3 separate regions of the Homo sapiens genome follow, and regions 2 and 3 are each linked to region 1. The links are contacts of gene promoters, found by promoter capture Hi-C in human tissues and cell types (Jung and others, 2019). All regions are on one chromosome and are shown on one strand. Each heading gives the region's core, a stretch centred on a gene start or on the middle of the fragment in contact. The rest is flanking DNA. Distances are from core to core; before and after follow the strand shown.

Evidence for each region. The method cuts DNA at HindIII sites, captures the fragments that hold promoters and counts their contacts. A contact is called where the count stands out against the background at its distance.
Region 2: a fragment that was not itself captured here is called in contact with the fragment with the promoter of FOSL1 in region 1 in 1 of the 25 tissues and cell types used here (dorsolateral prefrontal cortex).
Region 3: a contact is called between a fragment that was not itself captured here and the fragment with the promoter of FOSL1 in region 1, in 1 of the 25 tissues and cell types used here (lymphoblastoid cells).

The regions. Positions count from the first base shown.
Region 1 is chr11:65,897,713-65,902,123 of GRCh38, reverse strand. It overlaps FOSL1 (FOS like 1, AP-1 transcription factor subunit), which reads left to right and starts at 1,736. Exons shown (of 4, transcript NM_005438.5): 1 at 1,736-1,883. The coding sequence starts at 1,785. RefSeq lists silencers at 1,345-1,944, 2,553-2,672, 2,638-2,865. The HindIII fragment of the contact is 4,995 bases long and covers 914-4,411 here.
Region 2 is chr11:66,379,179-66,383,589 of GRCh38, reverse strand. No RefSeq gene overlaps it. Among named protein-coding and RNA genes, the nearest start is that of SLC29A2, 9.6 kb to the right of the region's middle. RefSeq lists enhancers at 36-536, 537-1,037. The HindIII fragment of the contact is 5,232 bases long and covers 1-4,411 here.
Region 3 is chr11:66,328,630-66,333,040 of GRCh38, reverse strand. It overlaps RIN1 (Ras and Rab interactor 1), which reads left to right. Exons shown (of 10, transcript NM_004292.3): 10 at 289-2,800. The coding sequence ends at 765. Among named protein-coding and RNA genes, the nearest start is that of RIN1, 5.6 kb to the left of the region's middle. The HindIII fragment of the contact is 6,220 bases long and covers 1-4,411 here.

The DNA.
Region 1 (4,411 bases), core at 487-2,986:
AAATGGTAGCTCTGGGACTAGAACCCCAGGGGCAATCTGGACTTCCTGGCTCTAAGTCCTGAGTGCACCCACAGGCTTCTGGCCTGTGTTCCCAAGGAAAGTAGCCCAGAGGGCAAAGCTAGAGCTGATGAAATGGAAGGACCGATGGAGAAGCAGGAGAGCCCAGCCCTCTCTTGATCTATTTACTTTGAGTCTTGCTCTGTCCCCCAGGCTGGACTGCAGTGGCGCAGTCACAGCTCACCGCAGCCTCAACCTCCCTGGCTTAAGCCATCCTCCCGCCTCAGCCTCCAGAACAGCTGGGACCACAAGGCAGGCGTACCACCATGTCCAGAAAATTTTATAATTTTTTGTAGAGATGGGGTCTCAAATGGTTCTTTCTGCCTTGGCCTTCCAAAGTGCTAGGATTACAAGCATGAGCCACCACACCTGGCCCCAGCCCTCTTTCTGTAGTCGTGTGACAACTGACAGCTCAGTACTCCATCTGGGCCTCAGTTTCCTCATCTATGATGGAAGTAATCAGAGAGAAGCTTTGGGATGGTGCCCAGCACTAACATTCTGGATGTGCGACAAGGTGTCTGTGAAGGTGTAAGGGCTTTGAAAATCTTGGCTGAGCCTGGGCTTGGAGTGCCCACGGCTGTGACTTGGCAACCTGTGCCAGCTACTCACTTAGCGACTTCAAGCAATTCATTTCAGCATCTCCCAGCCTCAGTTTCCCCATCTGTAAAACAGAGATGAGGATGATACCTGCCTCACATTCACTCACCTTTGACATACTCTCCAAACAAGTCTGGTGGCCACAAGCCTCCGAAAGGCACTGACCGTAATGAAGATGGCGTTTATCAGACCTCAGGACACCTGTAGTGGCCCTGAATTAAAACTCGTTATAGCTCCTGAAATTATCCTGAGTAATACTATTATATTGCATTTTATGTGGGGTTAGTTCAAAGCATTACCTTATCGCAAACATTTAAAATATACCACCCAGCCTGGGCAATACGGCGAGACCCAATCCCTACAAAAAACACAAAAATTACCTGGGTGTGGTGACGCGCGCCTGTAGTCCCACTTACTTGGAGGGGGCGCTGAGGCAGGAGAATCCCTTTAGCTCAGGAAGTTGAGCCTGCAGTGCGCCGAGATCGAGCCACTGCACTCCAGCCTGGGTGACAGAGACCCGGTCTCAAAAATATAAAGTAAAATAAAATATGCCACCATTTTTGTAACCCTGGTTTGTCATTTATTCACTTTTCATATACTCGAAGCCTTAAAACAAGGCCAGTGGAAAGACCTCACTCCACGAAGCTTTGGGTGGCGGTTGGCGTGGCTCCTAGAGATGTGATTCTTTCGTGCTATTTTGTGGGAGCAGAAACGGAGGTTAGCCCAGGCCTCGAGAGGGCTGGGGCGGGGCGCGGGCTCTGGCAGGTGCGTCAGTCCGCAGGGGAACCCGGGGCTCCACCTGGGCGCGGCGAGGAAGTTACACCATGTATGGGCAGCTACGTCAGGGGGGCGGGCCCGCAGCCTCCGGGGAACGCCGAGCCGGGCCCATCCCGGTGAAAAGGCTGCAGCCGGACTTGGGGAGGCGTCGCCAAGTTCGGGACCGACGGGCCAAGGCGGCGCGTCTCGGGGGTGGAGCCTGGAGGTGACCGCGCCGCTGCAACGCCCCCACCCCCCGCGGTCGCAGTGGTTCAGCCCGAGAACTTTTCATTCATAAAAAGAAAAGACTCCGCACGGCGCGGGTGAGTCAGAACCCAGCAGCCGTGTACCCCGCAGAGCCGCCAGCCCCGGGCATGTTCCGAGACTTCGGGGAACCCGGCCCGAGCTCCGGGAACGGCGGCGGGTACGGCGGCCCCGCGCAGCCCCCGGCCGCAGCGCAGGCAGCCCAGCAGGTGAGTGGGGCCCGACGCCGGTGGTCCCACGGGAGGACCGCGCGTGGGAGGCCGGGGTCAACTCCCGCACGCTCCGGGACTGGAGCGGGGAACCGGAGTCGGGGCCGGGCTGGGGGCTGGGGCGAGGATCCTGCCCCTCGCCGTCCGGGGCCAGTTGCCCCCACCGCGCAGCGGGCAGCAGAGACCCGCGAACTCCCCTTCTCCCAGCCGCCCCCTTCTCCCTCGCCGTCCGCGTCCGTCCCTCCGTCTCCGTGCCCGCTTTCTCTCCTCCTGCCCACCTCTGACTTCTGCGTCCACCCTGCTTCAGAAGGGGCGTGGGCGCCTAGGGTGGTCGCCTCGAAGGCTAGGAGGGTCTCTCCGCTTCGGGCTGAATTCCTGGGATCTGGAGTCTGGGCTGGGGTGAGGGTCCCCACACGGGAGGGAGGCGGGATCCGTCGGGAGAGCAGCTGGGCCAGGGTGGGAGTCCCGGCCCGGTCTGCGACCCTCCGCGTGTCCGTCCGTCTGTCTGTCCTTCGCCCCTCCGTCGCCAAGTCCCTATCGTTTCTCGGCCTGGGGAGTCCAGGGGGGTCCGGGCAGTGGAACCTGCCAGGTCCCCGGAGACCGGCCCTCGATCCCTTTGCCGAATGCGGCGAATAGAGACCTCGAGGTTCCGGGACGTGCGCGGGGTCAGGCTGCGGGCGACTCTCGCGACCCCACTCTCAGCCCCTAACGGCGCCCGCTGCCCGCCGGGGGGCACCCGGGAGGCTGCAGGTGCCCATTTCCTGTCGAGGGGCTGCGAGCACGTGTCGACAGGGGAGGGAAGGAGGGGCGTCCGTTCCGCCGAGTCACGGCGGCCGAGTCACGGCGGCTGAGTCACCCGGGGCGTCCCTCCCTTCCTGGCCTGGAGCGGCCCGGGCCCGGGAGTGGGAGATGCCGCCGGCGGTGCCTCGGACCCGGAACTGGGGTCACTGGGACGCCGGGCCCGCAGCGCTTGGGCTCGGGCTACCGCTGTCGGGACTTGCCTGGGCTTGTGGGCGCTTCCCGGACGATTGGGCGCCCACACCCAGGGCCCAGCGGCAGAGCTAGAACCCACTTCTCCCAGAACACTGAGCCCCATCCCAACCCACTCCTCAGATAGCTGGCTGATAGAATGGGAACAGGGACGTTGTGCTGGGCGCTTGCTACATCATTTACCATATTTCACGGAATCGAAGACCTCATCGATTGAAAAAAAAACCCACTATAACTTTATGCCACTAATTTTCTTTCCTTCTCTTTCTTTTCTTTTTTTTTTTTTTTCTGAGACAGGGTCTCCCTCTGTTGCCCAGACTATAGAGCAGTGGTGCAATCACAGCTCACTGCAGCCTCAGCCTCCTGGGCTCAAGCAATCCTACTGAGATCCTAGCTGGGAAGCGACCTGGCCACAGGCACGCACCACCACACCCAACTAATTTTTTAATTTTTTTGTAGAAATGAAGTCTCACTGTGTTGCCCGGTGTGACCTCAAACTCCTGAGCTCAAGTGATCCTTCTACCTCAGCCTCCCAAAGTGCTGGGTATGAGCCACCATGCCTAGTCCACTAAAATTTTTTAAATTGCCAATTAAACTATGATTTCAGAGCTATTAAAGGGTACTTCTTAACATCAGTGAAATCCTGTAATCCTCACCTGTAACAATATTAAAAATGAGGAAACTGAGGCACATGGAGGTTAAATAACTTGCCCATGGTCACACAGCCAGTAAGTAGCTGAGAGCTGAGATTAGAATTGGGACAGCCTGCCATGCCAGGTGGCTAAAGCCTGTCATCTCAACACTTTGGGAGGCTGAGGTGGGTGGACTGCTTCAGCTCAGGAATTTGAGACCACCCTGGGCAACCTAGTGAGACCCTGTCTCTACAAAAAAATTTAAAAAAAATTAGCCAGGCCGTGCGCGGTGCCTCATGCCTATAATCCCAGCACTGTGGGAGGCCAAGGCGGGTGGATCACCAGAGGTCAGGAGTTCAAGACCAGCCTGGCCAACATAGTGAAACCCTGTCTCTACTAAAAATACAAAAATTAGCCGGGCACAGTTGTGGGCGCCTGTAGTCCCAGCTACTCGGGAGGCTGAGGCAGGAGAATTGCTTGAATCCAGGAGGTGGAGGTTGCAGTGAGGCGAGATCGGGCTACTGCACTCCAACCTGGGTGACAAAGCAAGACTGTGTCTCAAAAAAAAAAAAACAGAAAAGAAAAAAAAAATTAGCCAAATGTGGTGGTGCACGTCGGTAGTCCCAGCTACTTGGGAGGCTGAGGTGGGAGGATTGCTTGAGCCCGCAGGTCACTGCACTCCAACCTGGGTGAAAGAGTGAGACCCTGTCTCAAGAAAAAAAAAAAAAAAAGCAATGGAATGGCCTGAACCCAGAGCAGTGACTCTTTCCTGCCTCAGCCCCTCTGCACTGGGCACCTGCCACTTACCAGACTGTCGCACACATTCTCTCACCTGATTCTCACAGCCTCCCCTTGAGCTGGGAGCTGTAATTATCCTCTTCGTGCAAACGGGTGCAGGAGTGGGTA
Region 2 (4,411 bases), core at 863-3,362, 480 kb before region 1:
TTTTAAATAGATTAGCTTGAACCATATATAAAGTTGCCAATATTGACTTTTGACTTATAAAACTGACAACTTTATATGATTTAACTATTAAAAGTTGCTAACCCACAGCAAAAGGTTAATGCCAATTGAAACTATACTGATACCAGTTTCCACCTACAGTTTGGTTAAGAACAAAACATTTAGGCTGGGCACGGTGGCTCACGCCTATAATCCCAGTACTTTGGGAGGCCGAGGAGGGCAGATCGCCTGAGGTCAGGAGTTCGAGACCAGCCTCACCAACTTGGTGAAACCCCATCTCTACCAAAACTACAAAAAATTAGCCAGGCGTGGTGGCGCGCTGCTGTAATCCCAGCTACTCGAGAGGCTGAGGCAGGAGAATCGCTTGAACCCAGGAGGCAGAAGTTTCAGTGAGCCAAGATCGCCCATTGCATTCCAGCCTGGGCAACAAGAATGAAACTCTGTCTCAAAAAAAAAAAAAAAAAAAAAAAAAAGTGCTAGGTGCAGTGGCTGACACCTATAATCTCAGCACTTTGAGAGGCTGAGGTGGGCGGATTACCTGAGGTTGGGAGTTCAAGACCAGCCTGACCAACATTGAGAAACCCCGTCTCTACGAAAAATACAAAAAAAAAAAAATTAGCCAGGCGTGGTGGCGCATGCCTGTAATTCCAGCTATTCAGGAGGCTGAGGCAGAGTTGCTTGAACCCGGGAGGCAGAGTTGCTTGAACCCGGGAGGCAGAGGTTGTAGTGAGCCAAGATCGCGCCATTGCACTCCAGCCTGGGCAACAAGAGCAAAACTCTGTCTCAAAAAAAAAAAAAAAAAGAACAAAACATTTAACAACATCCTGCTGGCTGGATAACAGGCACCAACATATATAGCTGGTGGAACTGTGAACTGGTGCAATCTCTGTGGAGAGCAATTTAGCAGCATCTATTAAAATTACAGGTGTAAAAAAAATTTAGCTGTATATATCCTCGAAAGCATTTCCACTTCTAGGAATTTCACCTACAGATAAACTCCCAAATGTTATTCATTGCACCATTATTTATAATAACAGATGAATGGAAATCATCTATTTTATTTTTGTGTTTGTTTTTGTTTCTTGTTTATTTTATGCTTTTTTTTCTTTTTGTACTTTTTTCTAGATTGGAAACAATCTAACGTAAATGTCCATCGATAGGGGACTACTTTTTTTTTTTTTTTTTTGAGATGGAGTCTCGCTCTTGTTGCCCAGGCTGGAGTGCAGTGGCGCAATCTCGAGTCACTGCAGTCTCCACCTCCCGGGTTCAAGCGATTCTCCTGCCTCAGCCTCTCAGCCTTTTTTCTTTTTTCTTTTCTTTTCTTTTTTTTTTCTTTTCTTTTTTTAAGACGTAGTCTCGCTCTGTCACCCAGGCTGGAGTGCAGTGGCGTGATCTCGGCTCACTGCAAGCTCCGCCTCCTGGGTTCCCGCCATTCTCCTGCCTCAGCCGCCCAAGTAGCTGGGACTACAGGCCCCAGTCACCACGCCCTGCTAATTTTTTTTGTATTTTTAGTAGAGACGGGATTTCACCATGTTAGCCAGGATGGTCTCGATCTCCTGACCTCGTGATCCGCCCGCCTCGACCTCCCAAAGTGCTGGGATTACAGGCATGAGCCACCGCGCCCGGCCATTTTTTCTTTTTTTTAAGAGATGAGGTCACACTATGTTGACCAGACTGGTCTCGAACTCCTGGTCTCAAGAGATCCTCCCATCTTGGCCTCCCAAAGTACTGGAATTACAGGCGTGAGCCACTACACCCAGCCAATAGGGGACTACTTTAAAACATTATGGTTTAGCTATACAATGAACAACGTTATTAAACAAAAACAAGTTTAAGGAGTCAGGCAATATGATTCAGAGAAACTGCTCCCGGTATAGTGCAACTAAAATGCCGGAGAAGGCCAGGCACGGTGGCTCACGCCTGTAATCCCAGTACTTTGGGAGGCCGAGGTGGGCAGATCACCTGAGGTCGGGAGTTTGAGACCAGCCTGACCAACATGGAGAAACCCCGTCTCTACTAAAAATACAAAATTAGCTGGGCGTGGTGGCGCATGCCTGTAACTCCAGCTACCTGGGAGACTGAGGCAGGAGAATCGCTTGAACCCAGGAGGTGGAGGTTGTGGTGAGCTGAGATCACAGCATTGCACTCCAGCCTGGGCAACAAGAGCAAAACTCCATCTCAAAAAAAATGCTAGGGAACATATAAAAACATCTTTCTTTCCAGCACTTTGGGAGGCCAAGGCAGGTGGATCACGAGGTCAGGAAATTGAGACCATCCTGGCTAACACGGTGAAACCCCGTCTCTACTAAACAAAATACAGAATATTAGCCGGGCGCCTGGTGGTGGCGGGCGCCTGTAGTCCCAGCTTCTCGGGAGGCTGAGGCAGGAGAATGGCGTCAACCCGGGAGGCGGAGCTTGCAGTGAGCCCAGATCGCGCCGTTGCACTCCAGCCTGGGAGACAGAGCGAGACTAAGTTTCAAAAAAAAAACAAAAACAAAAAACAAAAAAAAAACACTTTCTGACGAATGGTTAAATAGGAAAAGTAAGAGAAATTCTTACTTTTTAAACTTTTTTTCATAGAAAGCTTTGAATCCACAGAAAGATAGAATAGCACAATGAACACTCGTAAACCCACAACCTAGGTGGCAATTGTTGATATTTTGCAACATTTTTCCATCTATATGAAAAAACATAATAATACATAATTACATATAAAGTACATATAATATATAAAGTAAAAACCAAGTATCATGATATTTCAACCCTAATTACTTCCCATACATGCTGAATAGTTTCCTCTTAAATTACCAATGTTCAGAGTTAAGAGTTGGTGTGATGCAGCCAACCGCTTCCAGCAGTGGCAAAGAGGGTTGGTTTTTATTTTGTCTTGTTTTTGCTTGTTTGGTTTTTATTTCTATTATTATTATTATTATTTTTTGAGACAGAGTCTAGCTCTGTAGCCAGGCTGGAGTGCAGTGGTGCAATCTCTGCTCACTGCAACCTCCCCCTCCCAGGTTCAAGCAATTCTCCTGCCTCAGCTTCCTGAGTAGCTGGGATTACAGGCACGTATGTGCTGCCACGCCTGGCTAACTTTTGTATTTTTAGTAGAGACGGGGTATCACCATGTTGGCCAGGATTGTCTTGATCTCCTCACCTCGTGACCCGCCCACTCAGCAAGTTACTGCATTGTTCATCGACAATACTTGGCCATCAAGAATGTTCACAAAATACTACAAATCAATGAATGTTTTCCCACGTTGTTATTAGGTTGAATCATGGGAAATAGACATTTTGTGGGTTAGAAAGCAACTTGATGAAGAGCATCCACAAAAAAACTACAGCTAACTATATACTTTATAGCGACAAACTTGAAGCTTTTCTGGTAAGATCAGGGACAAGGCAAGAATGTCCCCTCTCACCACTGCTTTTCAACATCCTACTGGAAGTTTTAGCCAACACAATAAGTTAATAAAAGGAAATAAAAGGCATACAGATGGGGAAAGAAGAAATAAAACTGTCTTTGTTTGCTAATGACATAATTTCCTAGGTAGAAAACCTGAAAGAATCAAAAAAGCTTTGGAAATAATAAGCAATTATACCAAGGCTGGAGGATACAGGTTAATATTCAAAAGTCAATCTTTTTTTTTTTTTTTTTTTTTTTTTGAGACAGAGTTTTGCTCTTGTTGCCCAGGCTGGAGTGCAATGGCGCGATCTTGGCTCACCGCAACCTCCGCCTCCTGCATTCAAGCGATTCTCCTACCTCAGCCTCCCGAGTAGCTGAGATTACAGGCATGCGCCACCACGCCCAGCTAATTTTTTTGTATTTTTAGTAGAGACGGGGTTTCTCCATGTTGGTCAGGCTGGTCTCGAACTCCCGACCTCAGGTGATCCGCCCGCCTCGGACTCCTGAAGTGCTGGGATTACAGGCGTGAGCCACCCCGCCCCGCCCCATATTCTTATATATAGCAATGAATGAGCAAAATTTAAAGCACATTATAATTTTTTTACCGCATTAAGAATGTACTCCATAGCCGGGCGTGGTGGCTCACGCCTGTAATCCCAGCACTTTGGGAAGCCAAGACGGGCGGATCACGAGGTCAGGAGATCAAGACTATCCTGGCTAACACGGTGAAACCCTGTCTCTACTAAAAATACAAAAAAATTAGCAGGGCGTGGTGGCGGGCGCCTGTAGTCCCAGCTACTAGGGAGGCTGAGGCAGGAGAATGGCGTGAACCTAGGAGGCGGAGCTTGCAGTGAGCCAAGATCGCACCACTGCACTCCAGCCTGGGCGACAGAGCGAGACTCTGTCTCAAAAGAAAAAAAAAAAAGAATGTACTCTATAAAAAGAGGAAAAAAATGCAATTTTTTTTAGCAACTTGTACATTTCAGAAGG
Region 3 (4,411 bases), core at 525-3,024, 430 kb before region 1:
GTGAAGATTAAATGAGTTAATGCAGGAGAGTGCTTGGGGCACAAATTACTCACTATCAAATCTTCATCTCAGGCTTGTGAGCGCCCCACTGGGCTGTCCTTGCACCTGCGGCTGTGGCCCACAAGCCGACCCCTGGAGCACATAGAGCTTTTGCCGCTTGGTTCTCCCACTGGATCTCCACCTACCCACCCTGTCCCTGCACAGCCCAGAAAGCTGATGTCTCAGCTTTGGAGCCAGATGCATGCCAGCCGGGGCTGAGTACTTGTTTTTGCTTCTCCTCCTGCATAGCACCTCCTCCGAGTAGCCTATCAGGATCCCAGCAGTGGCTGCACCTCCAAGACCCTGGCCGTGCCCCCAGAAGCCTCGATTGCCACCCTGAACCAGCTCTGTGCCACCAAGTTCCGAGTGACCCAGCCCAACACTTTTGGCCTCTTCCTGTACAAGGAGCAGGGCTACCACCGCCTGCCCCCTGGGGCCCTGGCCCACAGGCTGCCCACCACTGGCTACCTCGTCTACCGCCGGGCGGAGTGGCCTGAGACCCAGGGGGCTGTGACAGAGGAGGAGGGCAGTGGGCAGTCAGAGGCAAGAAGCAGAGGGGAGGAGCAAGGGTGCCAGGGAGATGGGGATGCTGGGGTCAAAGCCAGCCCCAGGGACATTCGGGAACAGTCTGAGACAACTGCTGAAGGGGGCCAGGGTCAAGCCCAGGAAGGCCCTGCTCAGCCAGGGGAACCAGAGGCAGAGGGAAGCCGGGCAGCAGAGGAGTAGCTTGAAGTGGCCAGAAGGGTCATTCGGGGCGGGAGACCCTGAGCCTGCTGAGAAATCCTTTTAGCGCCAGCAAGCCCCACCCAGGGCCCTGTCCTGTGTCTGCCACCACCTTTGTCTGATACTTGTTTCCAGGGAAGCTGGGGGAACTGCCACATCTGAGGAACTGGAATAAAGATGAGGGGGCTTCGGGGGCCCCCAGACTGTGTGCCCAAGGCCCCTTGCCTCTTGTTCTTCTCCCCCAGCTGAGGGTGAGCCAGCCTGCAATGAGGGTGTGCCAAGTGGGGGCGAATCCGACAGATGCCCAACCTCTGACGTGGGGAGGGTGACGGTCTCAGCTCCTTTTACCCTTCCCCTCATGGGCATGGCTGAGGCAGGGCTCCACCCAAGTATCTCCCACCAGGCTGGGACTTCCAGACCCTAAAAGGTTCCAATGGCTCTTAGGTGTCAGGAGGATTTAGAGAGGCCACAGAACAGCAGCAAAGGCTTGGGGCCCACCCCTGTCCTGGACACCAGAAGGACCTGCACCTGCAAGCCTCAGTACTCTCATCTGTAAAGTGGGGACACTATTGCTGCCCTGCTCGGCTCCCAGAAGTGTCCCAGTGATCAAAATGGGTGATTTTGCTACAAGCAGAGCTCATGGCAGAAAGGGAGGGAGAGAGCTGGGCTGCTAACTCTCTCCCGGAGTCCGCTCTCTGCCAGACAGGGCTCCCACCTGCTGATGCCCAGTTCAGGGAGGTTATTCCCCTGGAAATCAGGCCCTGGGGAGAAAGTACCCAAGTTACAGTCTCTCCCCAAGATTTGGAGTCCTCCCAGGCCCTCCAGCATCTCTGGGGAGATCCACCAGCTGGCAGATAAGCTTCCAGAATGGAGAGGGGGCTCAGAAACCATGCTCTCTGCACTAAACTCTTGGCCCTCACAAAAGCTTTACTTGGCCATGACTTGTTGGGCCCACTGAGGGTCAGGAAAGTGACTCCCAGGATGTCATATAGCAAGTCCTTAAGGGTTCCCCCGCCCAAACCAGGGCATCAGGTTCCAACTCCACCCTCCATTCTAAGCCACCCACAAAGGCCGGGGCAGCCCCCAAGGAAGCCCAGAGCAGGCAGCAAATCCAAACAAGGAAAAGTGCCGACCACCAACCACGAGGGGGTGTGCACGGCCCGGGAATCTGCCGAGAGGGTGACCACCCAGGGGTGAGGGCGCCTCCAAGGCTGCAGCAGCAGAGGGGGTCCCGGGCCTTGCAGTCCAGCAGCATCAGGCAACCTGGGGACAGCGCAGGGGCCAAGGCCACTGGCCCCCAGGTCCCTTAGATTCTGGGGTCTGGGTAAGGCCAGCCTCTTGGGGGCCATCCCCAGGAAGGAAGGAATTGTCCCCTTATGGAGGATGACCCCAGAGGCTCTCTCCTCGGGCACTGAGCACAGAGGGGACGTCAGCCCAAATGTCAGACATGACAACTGGGAGGTAGAAATCGTGGACATTGGCTTTTTGGGTTTTTTTGTTTGTTTGTTTGTTTGAGATGGAGTTTTGCTCTGTCGCTCTGGCTAAAGTGCAGTGGTGCCATCTCGGCTCACAGCAACCTTCGCCTCCCAGTTCAAGTGATTCTCCTGCCTCAGCCTCCCGAGTAGCTGGGACTACAGGTGTGCACCACCACACCTGGCTAATTTTTGTGTTACTAGTAGAGACGGGGTTTCCCCATGTTGGCCAGGCTGGTCTCAAACTCCCGACCTCAGGTGATCCGCCCGCCTTGGCCTCCCAAAGTACTGGGATTACAGGCGTGAGCTACCACACCCAGCCAGACATTGACTTTCAGATGAGCAGTCCAGATACAGCCCAGTTGCACGGCTCCCATTTTTTTTGTCACTAGGCCACCAGCAGCTCTTCCCTCCCCACTTCCACGCCCTCCCAAGGTTCTCGCTGATAGGAAGTGTCCCGTTGGCTCTTCTATTCCCCTCCCTGTTTCACCACTCACCCCTAGTGCCTCACACAGTCCAATGCTGAGCACAAATGCCATAGGTGTTCAATAAATGTTGTTCACTGATTGGAGTTTGATAACCAGGAGTGAGGGACAGTGAGGCAGAAACCTGGGGAGTATAAGGGAGGACTCGGTTCTGGGAATCAAACACGGGATGTGTCAAGCTCAGTCCCAGAGGAAGGACCTGGAATGTTTGTAGAGGGTGCTCGGAGGATCCCAGGGGCCGGATGTACAACTGGCCTCATGGGAATGAGGCTCTGGGGCCTCTACAAGCCCTTCCCACCCTTGCCAGGCTCAGCATGACCTGACCCCCTCCCTGCCCTCCCCAGTGATGGGGCACCACAGGGAGCTGCTGCCTGGGTCTTGTGGTTTTTCTTCTCAAGAAACTCTGGGCTGGGCCTGGTGGCTCACGCCTGTAATCCCAACACTTTGGGAGGCCGAGGCCGGTGGATCACCTGAGGTCAGGAGTTCAAGACCAGCCTGGCCAGCATGGTGAAACCCCGTCTCTACTAAAAATACAAAAATTAGCCAGGCGTCGTGGCACACACCTGTAGTCCCAGCTACTGGGGAGGCTGAGGCAAGAGAATCACTTGAACCCGGGAGGCAGAGGTTGCAGTGACCCGAGATCACACCACTGCACTCCACCCTGGGCAACAGAGCAAGACTCCATCTCAAAAAAAAAAAAGAAATGAAAAGAAAACAAAAAAGAAACTGATTGGTCAGGGGTCCAGGCCAAATCAGCATCAACAAGATTATGATCCTGGGGCAGAGCCTCCAGGCAAGGCAGACAATGATAGGCCAGTGTAAGACCAGTCTCACTAGCCCCATTTTACAGATGAGAAAACTCAGACTTGCTCAGGGAAAGTGCCTTGTTACAGGACAAAGGGCTCAGACACCAGGTTCTGTAGTCCTTCAAAGCAGAGGGGCTGATTTATATGTCCACTCAGCACATCTATCAAACATCTGTTATAGGCCGGGCAAGGTGGCTCAGGCCTGTAATCCTAGCACTCTGGGAGGCCGAGGTAGGCAGATCACCTGAGGTCAGGAGTTCAAGACCAGCCTAGCCAACATGGTGAAACCCCATCTCTACTAAAAATATAGAAGTTAGCTGGGCAAGGTGGCTCACGCCTGTAGTTCCAGCTACTTGGGAGGCTGAGACTGGAGAATTGCTTGAACCTGGGAGGTGGAGGTTGCAGTGAGCTGAGATCACACCACTGCATTCCAGCCTGGGCGACAGAGCAAGACTCCAAAAAAAAAAATCAAACAACAACAACAACAACAGAAGTGTCTGTTATAGACCAAGCACCAAGCGCCCCCAGCTCCAGCCAAAGGGAAATAGGTCACATCTCTCCATTTGCATGGCGTGATCTGGGTGGTAACTGAAAGCTCACTGTGTCCTAGGGATTCCATGCCACCCCTTCCCCAGCCTTTGTCCTTATGGAAAAAGAAGCCAAGGCTCCAAGAGGTGACATGCCTGGCCCAGCGTCCGCTGCTGCAGGGCAAGACTGGAACTCTGACGTTTGGATCTATGAAAGAGCAGTCGGGTCATTTCCTTACTTGGAAGCATTGACCTTATCACTCCTAAAGTCACGGTGGTTCTGTATGCAAGTTTATTGTCTGTTTCCCTCACTAGAATGCCAGAGCCACCCCCACCTTGTTCGCAGTTAAATCTCAAGG